2 separate regions of the Homo sapiens genome follow, and region 1 is linked to region 2. The links are contacts of gene promoters, found by promoter capture Hi-C in blood cells and fetal thymus (Javierre and others, 2016). All regions are on one chromosome and are shown on one strand. Each heading gives the region's core, a stretch centred on a gene start or on the middle of the fragment in contact. The rest is flanking DNA. Distances are from core to core; before and after follow the strand shown. Region 1 overlaps ELOVL7 (ELOVL fatty acid elongase 7). Region 2 holds the start of DEPDC1B (DEP domain containing 1B).

Evidence for each region. The method cuts DNA at HindIII sites, captures the fragments that hold promoters and counts their contacts. A CHiCAGO score of 5 or more calls a contact.
Region 1: a fragment that was not itself captured here is called in contact with the fragment with the promoter of DEPDC1B in region 2 in 1 of 17 cell types (megakaryocytes); the score reaches 5.7 in megakaryocytes.

What each region holds. Positions count from the first base shown.
Region 1 is chr5:60,819,413-60,825,179 of GRCh38, reverse strand. The region is part of intron 1 of ELOVL7 (ELOVL fatty acid elongase 7); the gene reads left to right. Among named protein-coding and RNA genes, the nearest start is that of ELOVL7, 22 kb to the left of the region's middle. RefSeq lists a silencer at 2,792-2,851. The HindIII fragment of the contact is 689 bases long and covers 2,100-2,788 here.
Region 2 is chr5:60,695,192-60,701,586 of GRCh38, reverse strand. It overlaps DEPDC1B (DEP domain containing 1B), which reads left to right and starts at 1,421. Exons shown (of 11, transcript NM_018369.3): 1 at 1,421-1,541. The coding sequence starts at 1,494. It overlaps LOC124900982 (a long non-coding RNA gene), which reads right to left and starts at 1,347. Exons shown (of 2, transcript XR_007058779.1): 1 at 1,246-1,347. The HindIII fragment of the contact is 2,062 bases long and covers 96-2,157 here.

The DNA of each region.
Region 1 (5,767 bases), core at 1,195-3,694, 120 kb before region 2:
CATGGTGGCGCACACCTGTAATCCCAGCACTTTGGGTGGATCACTTGAGGTCAGGAGTTTGAGACCAGCCTGGGTGTGTGCCTTTAGTCCCAGGTACTTGGGAAGCTGAGGCAGGAGAATCACTTGAACCCAGGATGTGGAGGTTGCAATGAGCCGAGATCGCACCACTGCACTCCAGCCTGGGTGACAGAGTGAGACTCTGTCTCAAAAAAAAAAAAAGAAGTGAGAAGAAGGAAAGGTCAGAGGTCAGAGAGGTAGTCAGGGCCCAGATCATGTAAGGCCGTGGAGCCCATTATAAGAACTTTGACTTTTATTGTGAGTGAGGTGGGAAAATATTGGTGCATTTTAAACAGAGAAGGGACATGACTTGAGTTTTTGTTTTGTTGTTTTTAACTTGAGGAAGACATTAAAGAGGGACAAAGATGAAGTCAGGGAGACCAGCTTAGAGGCTACTGCAGCAATCCGGATAAGACAGGACAGTGGCTTGGGCCACCGTTAAAGTAAAGTAGTTGGATTCTAGAATATATTTAGAAGATAGGATTTGTTCATGAATTTTATGTAGAAAGAAATGGAGGCTTTCTTCCATATTTAAAGATCTGGGTGGACTGGCCAGGATTCCCCTATCTATCCATTGCCACATTTGAATCTAACTGTTACTTTTTCACTTCCATAGGAAAATGAAACAAAACTCTCCTTTTTTGAACATCTCACTGTTGGGCTTTGTTGCCTCTGCCTTTCTTAGTCTTCTTTGTCTCTTGTTCTTCGCTTCAATCCCACATGCCTTAGAGACTTTGACGTTTCTCCATCGTTACTCCTGCTGTTGCTCTGGGAGACTTCCACGTCCCTTCAAATGCCGACTTGTGAGCGGCCTTAAAGTTCCTTGTGTGACTCAACTGTGATAACCTTTACAGCACTGTAAAGGTCTCTGGCTGTTCAGCTCTCTTATACCTCCTTCTCTTCACTCTCTCAGAGACTATAATTTTGCCTTGGTGTCTGAATTTTTTATTTATCCTACTTCCATATTTACCTGGCAAAGCCCTAATTCCAAATTAATCCTACAGTAATCCTCTGCACGGATACCCAGGTAGTGTCTGAATTTTTTATTTATCCTACTTCCATATTTACCTGGTAAAGCCCTAATTCCAAATTAATCCTACAGTAATCCTCTGCAGGGATACCCAGGTAGCTGAACAGTGTGGTGGAAAACTGGGTAAAATGGTAAATGGATCAGTTCATGGTTTCCAGTCTTGTCTCAATCCTGACCAGCATTACTTAAGTCTTTCACTCAGTGACTCTCAATCTTGGCTGCATATTAGAATCATCTGGGAACTTAAAAAAATCCTGGAGCCCAGGCTACAGAGACCAGTTAAATCTGAAATTTGGAGGCAGGACCCAAGCATCAGTAGTTACTCATGTTCTTTAGGTGATTCTAATGTGCAACTAAGATTGAGAACCACTACTTTAAACTTGTTCTTGAAGGATTTTCAGTTTCCATTTCCCTGAAAAGCTATTCTATTCTTTCACTAATCTCTAAAAAACCCTCTACCTAACTCCGTTTTATAAACCCTTGGCAATTGATCCCACTTCCTACTTGCTAGAAAAATTGAAGCATCTATTGGTGAATCCTCTTTAATTTTTAGTCCCCATTTAGTCAACTATACATTTAATTAGGGCTTAGATAAGCCAGGCACTGTGGTAGGCATGGGACATAGAGTGGTAAATGGGACAGTTATAGTCCGTGCCTTCCTGGTGCTTATGGTCTATCCCTGCATCCAGGCAGGTCAATTAGGCAATTACTGGACATGGTACATGCTATGGGCGCATGTAGGAAGGGCCCTAATCCAGACTTAGGCTCTGGAGAAGGCTTCCTCCCCTTTACTAACTCATCTATTTCACGCCCTTCTTTCCCGTTTTCCTTCTCGGAGGAGGTATCACCCTTGCTCCAGTGGAGGGAGAATGCTGCCTTGCAGGGCTTCTGACCATCCCCCTCATTTTCTCCTCTAGACCTTCATGGGTTGTTCCTTCTTGTTTCTCTCTATTACTTCATCCCCTCACTGTAAAAATACTCCAACAGTTATCACCTTAAGACTAATAAAGCTTGATTTTGCCTCTCCTTCTTCTCTTCTAGACTTCACCACCAGGCTTCGTGAACAAGACCTGTTCAATGCCTGCTATTAATCACCTGCCTTTGCATTTTGGCTTCAGCCTTATCATTGCTTAATTTCTTCTTCCTTCCAGTCACAGAGGCTTCCAGGTTGGCTGAATTTGCTGAAGACCATTCCACTCTATGCACTGAACCTCTCTGATGCATTTGACCCTATTCATCCCTGCCTCCCTCTTCAGAATTTTTCCCACTTTTGTTTTCATGATCCTGCACGTACTGAGTTCTCCTCATGTCTTTTTGACTCTTTCTTTTTTTGTCTCCTTTGTGAGATTCCATCTTTTGGCCTTCCCCTTAAGTGATGGTATTCTCCAGGCGTTTGTCTTTAGACCACTATTGTTCTCATGCATCTATTACTGTGGTTTTCATCACCAACTAGATGTGAAGTTCCAAAAGCTGTATCCTTAGCCTTGACCTTCCTCCCAAGTGCCTGCTAAACATCTCCACCTGAATGTCCCCTGGGCTTGTCACATTGGGATTTACTTTACCAAACTATCTCTGCCCTTGTTCAGGCCTATAATGATTTCTCATTGGGATGATGGAATTAAACCCCACTCGGTCTTCTTGCTCTTAGGCTCACCCATCACATTCATCCTTTGCATAGCTGATTTGCCTATAGCTAAAGCTTGCACTAAGGGGATTCTTCTGGTACAGGCTTGGGGTTTTCAGTGGGTAGCACTCTGGTGACCTGTGTGGTTGAGCTCTTTTACATATCGAGCTTATGAATAATATTTCACCTTTTCAGCGCTTCCTATTGCCTATGCAGTGTCTTTCACACTCTTCCTCATTTGCACTCCTTTCTCAGTGCATTTGACTATCCTACAACCCCAAAGTACCCAATTCCTACTGTTCACCAAGAAATAGCTCAGTCTCACATCTTTCACAAAGCCTTCTTATCATTCACACCTTCATTTATTTATTCACTGATATTTATTAGACATTTGCATTGTTGCATTGTCCCAGGCAGCAAACAACATTCCCAAAAGGAGGAAGGTAAGAACACACCTGAAGGCATTAGAGAAGTGCTTCTCAAACTATCTGTGGTAATAGACCAACTGGGTTTTTAATTTGTTTTTTTCTTTTTTTCCCTATCGTGGATCAGTAAATGGTCCTATTGCACATAGTGAATATGCAGGTTGCACCACATGTGACTCACCTCACAAATTCAGCAACACTTGAACTGGTCTATGCCTTGTTCAACAAGCATCACATACTTGGATGTCACAGCAATGTCAAATTGCTATAAACATTTCTAAATGCTTACACTTGATTTCTGGAGTTAGCTGGTACCAATCTAGTAAGAAACCATTTGTGCGTCAGCACCAGTCACAGGCCACTGTCCTAGAGTGTTTGCTATAGATGCCATGGTAGAAGAGGGGACAGCTTATGTCAGGGGCTCAGAAGAGACTGGACAGTTTGCCTGGGTGGTTTAGCTGTAAGGGGAACAGAAAGCATGTTAGAGGAAGGCAGAATTATGAAAAGTGAGCTAGGCTTCCCAGCCAGCCGAACAAGGATTTTTAGTCATGAAGAGAAACTGGAGCATAGATAGAGGGGGAAGGAGGAGCACTTGGGCTTGCTGAGTTGGAGGATAGAGGGGACATAGTGGAAAAGGTTGCTGTTAGGCAAGAGATGAAGCTAGAGAGTCACGTGGGGTTGAGATCATTCGTTCAGCGAATACTGTTTGGAAGTCAACCATGTGCCAGACCCTGCCTAGGAATTGGGGTTAGAAGTCCAGCAGGGACAGTTTTGCTCTGCTAGAGATTAGAAGGGTGCTAAGCGTCACCACAGAGTTAGACTTTTTAGTAACTGTAGGCAGACTTTGAAGGATTTTGAAGTAGAGCATGGTGTGACTGCTTTAATCCTTGGGAAGATGACTCTGGTGGCCTTGTGTACAGTGGATGGCTGTTCATTTAGGAAAGTTAGTTGAAAGGTGATTTCAGTAATCTTGGCCACACAAAGACGGAAGTGAACTAGGCAGTAATTATAATTATTACTCAAATTTACCGAGAACTTTGTATAGGGCTTAAAGCTACAGCATACTAAAAACAGATAATTCACTAGGCAGACAAGAGAACATCAACACAAGACAGACTTATCAGTAGACAAACTTATTAGTTCACTTCCTTCTGTGTGTGGCCAAGAGATGATAAAGCTCAGGAAGTAGCAGTCAGGGGTTGAGGGGAGGAAGTGGAGTTGAAGGAAAGGGGAAGGGACTTTTAGGAGAAATATCATAAAGATGGCATACACCACAGGTCTTAAGGGGTCAGTGGAGTTTAAGGATGGCTCACAGTTTCTGATTTGTGATCAGGTTCGTGGTCCAACTCATTGGGAGAACGAATAATAGAAGGGGAGGGTGTTGGAGAAGTGAGAAGTCAAGAGTCTAAAGATGTCGTACCAGTTAGGTGCCTTTCTGTGTTCCTGTAGTGCTTTGTGCTAACTTCTTGCATAGAATTGTCCATTGGGCTGAAGTACTTATGAGCTCCTTGAGAATGTGTACCCATTTTTCTATCCCAGACACTGGTCACAGGGCCTGGCATGTGGAACAGGCTTGACAAATGGTTCTTAAACTAAACCGAAAGATAGTGTATTAGTTTTCTATTGCTGCCATAACAAACCACCACAGACTTTTTAAGTTCATTGAAATAACACAAATGTATTATCTCACAGTTCTGTAGGTCAGAATTCCAGGTTGGCACAGCTGGTTTTTCTGCTCTGTGTTTCACAAGGCCCAATTAAGGTGTTGGTCAATTGGGCTCTTATTAGGAGGCTCCATTTGGAGCTCCAATGGGAGCTTGGAATCCATTTCTAAGCTCATTCAGGTTGTTGGCAGGATTTACTTTTTTTGTGGCTGTAGGACAGAGGTTCCTGTTTCCAGGCTGTCTGTCAGAGGCCACCCTTACCTTCTAGGAACCTCTCCCCAGTCCTTGAATGTGGGCCAGTCCATCCCAGAGCCAGCAAAGTTGCACTGAATATTCATGCTTCAAATCCTCCTTCTTCCAGCCAGAGACAGTTCTCTACTTTTAAGGATGCATTTGATTACATCGGGCCCAACATGATATTCCAGGGTAAATCCCTATTTTAAGGTCTATACATTTAATTACATCTGTGGAAACCCTTTTGGACATATTAGGCGCGGAGGGGAGAGCATCATTTTGTCTACTACAATAGTAATTATCCACCAAGTCAGGTAGGCATTATGATCGTGGTTTTTTTTGTTTTGTTTTGTTTTTCTCTCGAGACAGAGTCTCACTGTCACCCAAGCTGGAGTGCGGTGGCTCGATCTTGGCTCACTGCAACCTCCACCTCCCAGGTTCAAATGATTCTCGTGCCTCAGCCTCCTGAGTAGGCAGGATTACAGGCGCCCGCCTGCCACCACGCCGAGCTAATTTTTGTATATTTAGTAGGGACGGGGTTTCACCATGTTGGCCAGGCTGGTCTCAAACTCCTGACCTCAGGTGATCCACCCACCTCGGCCTCCCTAAGTGCTGGGATTACAGGCATGAGCCACCGTTCCCAGCCTATGATCGTGGTTCTTAAACACTTATGCATTCTAGCACCTCTCATTTGTACAGGGAAGCAAAAGGAGACTGAATTTGCCCAGTGTCA
Region 2 (6,395 bases), core at 172-2,671:
TATAAAACCCCAGGTCAAAAGGTCAAACTACGCACTAGATCTCTCAAGTCACTGGCTTGGCCCTCTTCCAAGTGTACTTCCTTTCATTCAAAGCTTTTTAATAAACTTCACTTCTGTTCTAATACTTGCCTTGGTCTCTCCTTTTGCCTTATGCCCCTCAGTCGAACTCTTTCTTCTGAGGAGTCAAGAATTGAGGTTGCTGCAGATCTGTAGGAATTCACTGCCTGTAACATACTTTGGGGCCGTGTCTCGGATATGGGCAGCTGCTAACATATTTTGGTGCCCTGTGACTCGAGTTAACTTCCACAGCTCACAAAGGCAGTAACATTTTCTAGGGAGTCACTAGAAGATATATGTAAAAAATCTCCTATATCTCCTAGTGGAAGATAGGGTTACTTCGTTAAGAATGTTTATTCAGGTCCACTGCAGCCTTCAATTCCAAGCCTTTGGTGATAAAGGCTATTTTCTCACCGTGGTAGGGAGAGGATGCCCATCCCAGAGAAATCTTTGTGGCCTGCTGCATCGAAGAGGCAGGTCAGCTTGCCCTTTCTGAAACTACCATTTCTCCAATGTTTTCCGCTCGAAATAATCAATATACCAATTAGGCATATTTTGGAATGGCACACCTTCACTCCTTCAACGTCTTGTCCTGGGTACTTACCGAGATGACCAAATTTGAGTAGGTGTACAGAGTCCTAAGTATATGGAGTTACTTCATTTGTCCCTCTGAAAGATTGCAAATCGGACTAGCAATTCCCAGGGGGAAAATTCTAAGCAGTCAAAAAAGGACTCACAACCCTATTGCCGAGGACTAAAAGTATCAGCCCAATACAAAACATAGAACTCAAATTAAAGGGGAAAAGACTATCATGAGAACAAACAGAAGAGGAATCGGGGCTCCCTTCCCGCTCTTTATTGCCCTTAACACACTGTCTACGCTCCTTGTGCTCTCTATCCCGTTTTTAAATGTCCCTACACTGGTAAAAGCTGTCGCCTCGCTTCATTTCACTACCGCTTCTCCCAGCGTTAGCAGCACCTCCAGGCTCACAGTGCACTTGGTAGGGAGGACAGGTATTTATCCACGCGGCCCAAAGCTGGGTTTCGGTCGCTGGATAACACCTATTATTGACCCTTTTGTAGAGATAGCGTTGCGTGTGTTTGTGTTGCGCGGACGCAGAAATCTGGGAAGGGCGCTGCACAGCGTTTTCCAGCGCTGGGGAGACGCCCCCGGCCCCTTAGTCGCACCTGCCTAGGTGTGCTCGCACGGTGGGACCAGGGTGGGCAACAGATTTCGCCCCGGGCAAGTTCGCACGCGGAGCTCCCAGCGCCGCGGGTCTCGGAGAAGACGCCTGCCTCCCCGCGCATTTCCGGTGACGTGCTGCCGCGCCGCCCAATCAGCGCCCGCAGCCCGCGGGCTTGGGATTCAAACTGCTGCTCCTCCGGCTGGCGGGGATCAGCGCTGGCGCGGCTGCGGCCGCTGCTGCCTACGCGCCATGGAGCATCGCATCGTGGGGCCCGGGCCGTACCGAGCTACCAGGCTGGTGAGTGAGTGTGCTGGGGCCTGGGCGGAGCACCCGGTGCCGCGAGCCCCCACTCAGCGCGCGGACAGAGTGCTTGTCAGTCTTCGCTTCCGCAGGCCAGCGGGGCTCGGGTGTGGAGCATTTCAGCTGGGACTACTGGGGCTGCCTTTTAGTGGACGAGCCTCAAAGAAAGGCTAACGGGGCCCAGAGCTCAGCCGGCCGGGGGTTAGTGCAGCTTTGTCCATGAGATGTTGACTGGGTTCTCGGCAGTAGATGGCGCCTCTCTGTTTAAAGACCCCAAGACCAGGCTGTTCCCTGCCTTTTGTCCTCTGGAATCTAACCGACCCGGTCGGTAACCTGAGGGGCCACCACGTACCCCGTAACGCTCAGCGTTCGCGGCAGTCCAGGCAGGGCGTGTCTCCTTCCTGAGTGACACCTGATGATACCTGACGGGGTATTCGAATAAACGGTGCCCAGAACAGAGGGGCATCGCGCTGGCCGCATTTCCGGCCCCTGGCGTTTCTGTTTCTGTCAGCACCGATCCAGATGAAGAGCTGGCCAGGACAGATGTTTTAGGAGAGTCTTTGCCGACTCTGAGTTCCTGTTTTTTTTTTTTTTTTTTTCTGGGAGAAAAGCTTTGGTATTGAGGTGTACTTGGTCTGCTTTGACTTGGAACAATAAAGGGTGACAGTTTGGTAATGTCTGTGGCAAGTTTTTAGAGGACTTTCTGTGGAAGTGTAATGGTAATTTGGGAGGACAGTAACTTGCTCCTTGGTCTGCCGACCTCTCTGGCCACATTTAACATGGGAATTACTCTCATAGTTCCATGCATTATAATGAATACACAGGAAAAGATGGGAACTAACATCCAAACTCTTACTCAGCTAGACTCATGGAAGAGGTGAGGATGCTGGGATACAGATAATGTAAATAGAGTTTCCTTTTCTTTCCAAAGCCAGCCACACACTATACCAGTAAGTCAAGCCAGAGCTGAGAAGGCCAGCTTCTGGAAGAGAAATCATAGTTGGGGCTGATGGGTCTTTACTTTTTAAATTTGGCTCATAGATCGCTTTGAGAATCTGATGAAGATTAAGGATCTTCTTCACAGAAAACTGCACATGGCACATACTCATGAAATTTTACATGATTTAAGGGGATGGATCGCTTGAGGTCAGGAGTTCGAGACCAGCCTGGCCAACACAGCAAAACCCCGTCTGTACTAAAAATACAAAAATTAGCTGGGCATGGTGGCATGCGCCTATAGTCTCAGCTACTCAGGAGGCTGAGGCAGGAGAATCTCTTGAACCTGGGAGGCAGAGGTTGCAGTGAGCTGAGATCGCGCCATTGCACTCCAGCCTGGGCAACGAGCGAAACTCCATCTCAAAAAAAAAAAAAAATAATAAGGAGATTGGGAGAGTCTGTGACATTGTTTTATTTGGCATAAAGACAAGCATTTTATTTGCTCATCCTTTGGATCAGTAATCTGGGCTAGACTCATGTCAATGGTTCTTTTGTGGAGGTCACTCATGTGCCACAAATAATGTGACTTGGCTATTACTGGATGATGGAAGATGGCTGCTTGACTTGGTCCTGGCTGTTACCTGGGCCAGATATCTCTAACAGGTTATCGGAGGCATCTTCACGTAGTGGTCTCATGGTTCCAACGTAGCTAAAAGGAAGTTTCAGCTTGTGACTTTTTCTTCAAATCTCATTGGTCAAAGCAAGTTAAACAGCTAAATCCAGATTCTAGAAATTCAACTCCACTTCTTGATGGGCAGGGTGGCAAAGCCACAGAGGTGCATGTGGAGAGGATGGGAAGAATCATTGCACTCATCTTTGCGAACACTCTATACAGTATAGACACCAGAATGATCTGGGGTCAAGAATATTGATAAGTCTAACTTTAGGGAGGAAAATAAGGCATTTGATCATTCCCTTCACCAATTTATTTACAGCACTTACACAAGGAAAACATAGCAAGGCTGTGGTTCTTGACGTGACTAGTCTTCATTCTTCCTGCATTAGACTAAAAAAAAAATACCTCATAATTGGAATTGTATTTTAGTCTCATATTCACAGAATTGTATGAGGTACTTCTTTTCATGGATGCAGAGGGTCCATATATAGATAGTGCTGGATTCTTGAGTCACATTAAAATATTATCAAAGGAATTTGTTTAATTAAAAAAAGGTGCTCTCTGCTCTCTAGAAGTCTTCAGTCCCTAACAAATAATATTCAGGCTAAATTTAGGTTGATTAAGTTAAGAAGATAAATGACATGGATAATTAATGAAACAAACACCTCAGTTTCACCAGAATTTCCCAGGTAATCAATTCAGTTCTCAACTTCATAGTGTTTGAGGAACATAATATTAAACTAAGATGTGGAAAACAGAAAACAATAGCCAATTTTTTTTTTCAAAAGTGAGTATTCCTGCTGTCAGTGATTGCAGCCAACATTGAAGATGCTTCTTTCCATTGTAAAGTCTGTAATTGTTTCCCCAGTGTAATTCAGCTGTGACTTAAAGCTTTTGCTAGGTAAATCATATATTTAATAGTTTGAGACTAGTCCTCTTTTTACTTGTTGGACCTAGTTGGCCTTTCCTCCCTCTATCTGCAGCATACAATTTCTCCCTTTTCCCATCATGCTCATTCTAAACTTTCTTCAGGGGAAGCTTGGTAAAAATCTATTGGGATACAAAAACTAGGCCTTTATTTTCTCCTTTCATGGCTCACTTTACTTTCTCAAAGCATGTACAGCTTTAGAAAAAGCTCTTTGGTGCTTTTTCTAAAGCACCAAAGTCTTATTTGAAAATAACATTTTGTGGATTAGGTAAAATGTTATGACAAAAGTCAAATGACAGCCCCAACTCATGATAAATGTGAAGCTAGTTATCCATTTATACATTTTCACTGAAATAACTTTCATCTTTGTAAACTTGGTATAAATAGTTCATTCAAGTAGAGAGAAAAATTTTTTTTCTAGAAACTGCTTAAATCTTTGAACTTATTCTGAGTTATATATATGGTCTGATGCAACTGATAAATTTTAAAAGACATACAGCTTTCATTGAATCTGAGAGTTAGAATGGCAAGATCACACAACGAGGTTGTGGCAAGTGCAAGTAGATCTAGGAGTGGTTGTCACTGAACTCCCAGACCAGTCAGTTTTCTTTATAGCACCGCTATCATAATATTTTTGGTACTAAGAAGAAATGAAATGGAATATCCTGGAGAAAAGAACAGGATGCACAGCAGTAGGTGTATGTCTTATAGTTTGCCTCATCATGTTAAGAAAAAACAATTGTGTGATTTTATTTTTTCCTGAGAAACTAGGGGACTGAAATTAATAAGTAGAGCAAAACAAAAAGTGTTTTAAAATCATAAAACAAATCTGTTTTGTTCCATTTGTTGTAAAGATTCTCTTCAAATATAATGTCATGAAAAAAAAACTCAAGCTCTTTCTTGTTATTTATTGACAGAGGATATTTTGTTTCCAAAAGTGACTGAGAATGGTATATTGTTAGATTATTTAAAGATACTTATTTTTCTTTCTGAGCAGAGTAGCCAAATAACCCCTTAGTTATATTTGGAAATAAGTGGGAACAGAGACCAAAGTGACCTCAGTAGGCTTTAAAAAATCTAAAGTATTTCATATATTAAGGAAATATAACCCATAATGATAAATGCCATTCAAAATCAAAATGAGTAAATTCAAAAGTCTATTTATAAATGCTCTTTTTAAAAGGGGCAATGAGACTTTGATAAAGATGTTTTATTAGACATTTTCTAGTATGAAATAAAAGTCAGTAGCAATAGAGCAGTTAATCCATTCTGAATCCTAATGGATTTTTTTTTCCTGTGTGGGAGAATGCAATGAATTGAAAGCTCATGCTGAAGAGTAAAATTCTGAGAACTGAAAAAAGTTTTCCCTCACAAAAAGAAATGAACTTCACAAAAAGAAATTTTCACGCTGGGTGCGGTGGCTCATGCCTGTGATCTCAGCACTTTGGGAGGCCGAGGCGGGTGGATCACGAGGTCAGGAGATCAAGACCATCCTGGCCAACATGGTGAAACCCCGTCTCAACTAAAAATACAAAAATTAGCTGGGTGTGGTGGCACATGCCTGTAATCCCAGCTACTTGGGAGGCTGAGGCAGGAGAATCACTTGAACCAGGGCGTCGGAGGTTGCAGTCAGCCGAGATCACGCCACTGCACTCCAGCCTGGGCACCAGAGCGAGACTCTGTCTCAAAAAAAATAAAAAAAGAAAGAAGTTTTCACATTCCCTTACAAAGAAGACAGGGGCCTTGTCCTACCAGGGATTTATACTTGGTATTAATTGACTGTAATGACAACTGTATGGTATTACACAGGAACAGATAGTCGCTCAGTGGGATAGAAACAATCAAGAAGTGTGATATGTAAGGTTACTTAATAATATTTCTGTTCATTTAGAAAAGCATGGCATAATTGACTCTTGATATGGTTTGGACGTTTATCCCCTCCAAATCTCATGTTGAAATGTAATCCACAGTGTTGGAGGTGGGGCCTAGTGGAGGTGTTTGGGTCACTGGGGCAGATCACTCATGAATGGCCTGTTGCTGTCCTCATGACAATGAGTGAGTATTCACTCTGAGTTCATGTGCGATCTGATTGTTTAAAAGTGTGGCACCCTGTCCCTCACTCTCTCTTGTTCCCCCCTTGCTGTGTTATGTGCCTCCTTCTGCCTGCTTCCGCTTCACCTTCTGCCTTGAATAAAAGCTTCCTGAGGCCTCACCAGAAACTGAGCAGATGCTGGCACCATGTTTCTTGTACACTCTGCAGAACCGTAAGCTGATTAAACCTCTTTCCTTTATAAATTACCCAGTGTCAGGT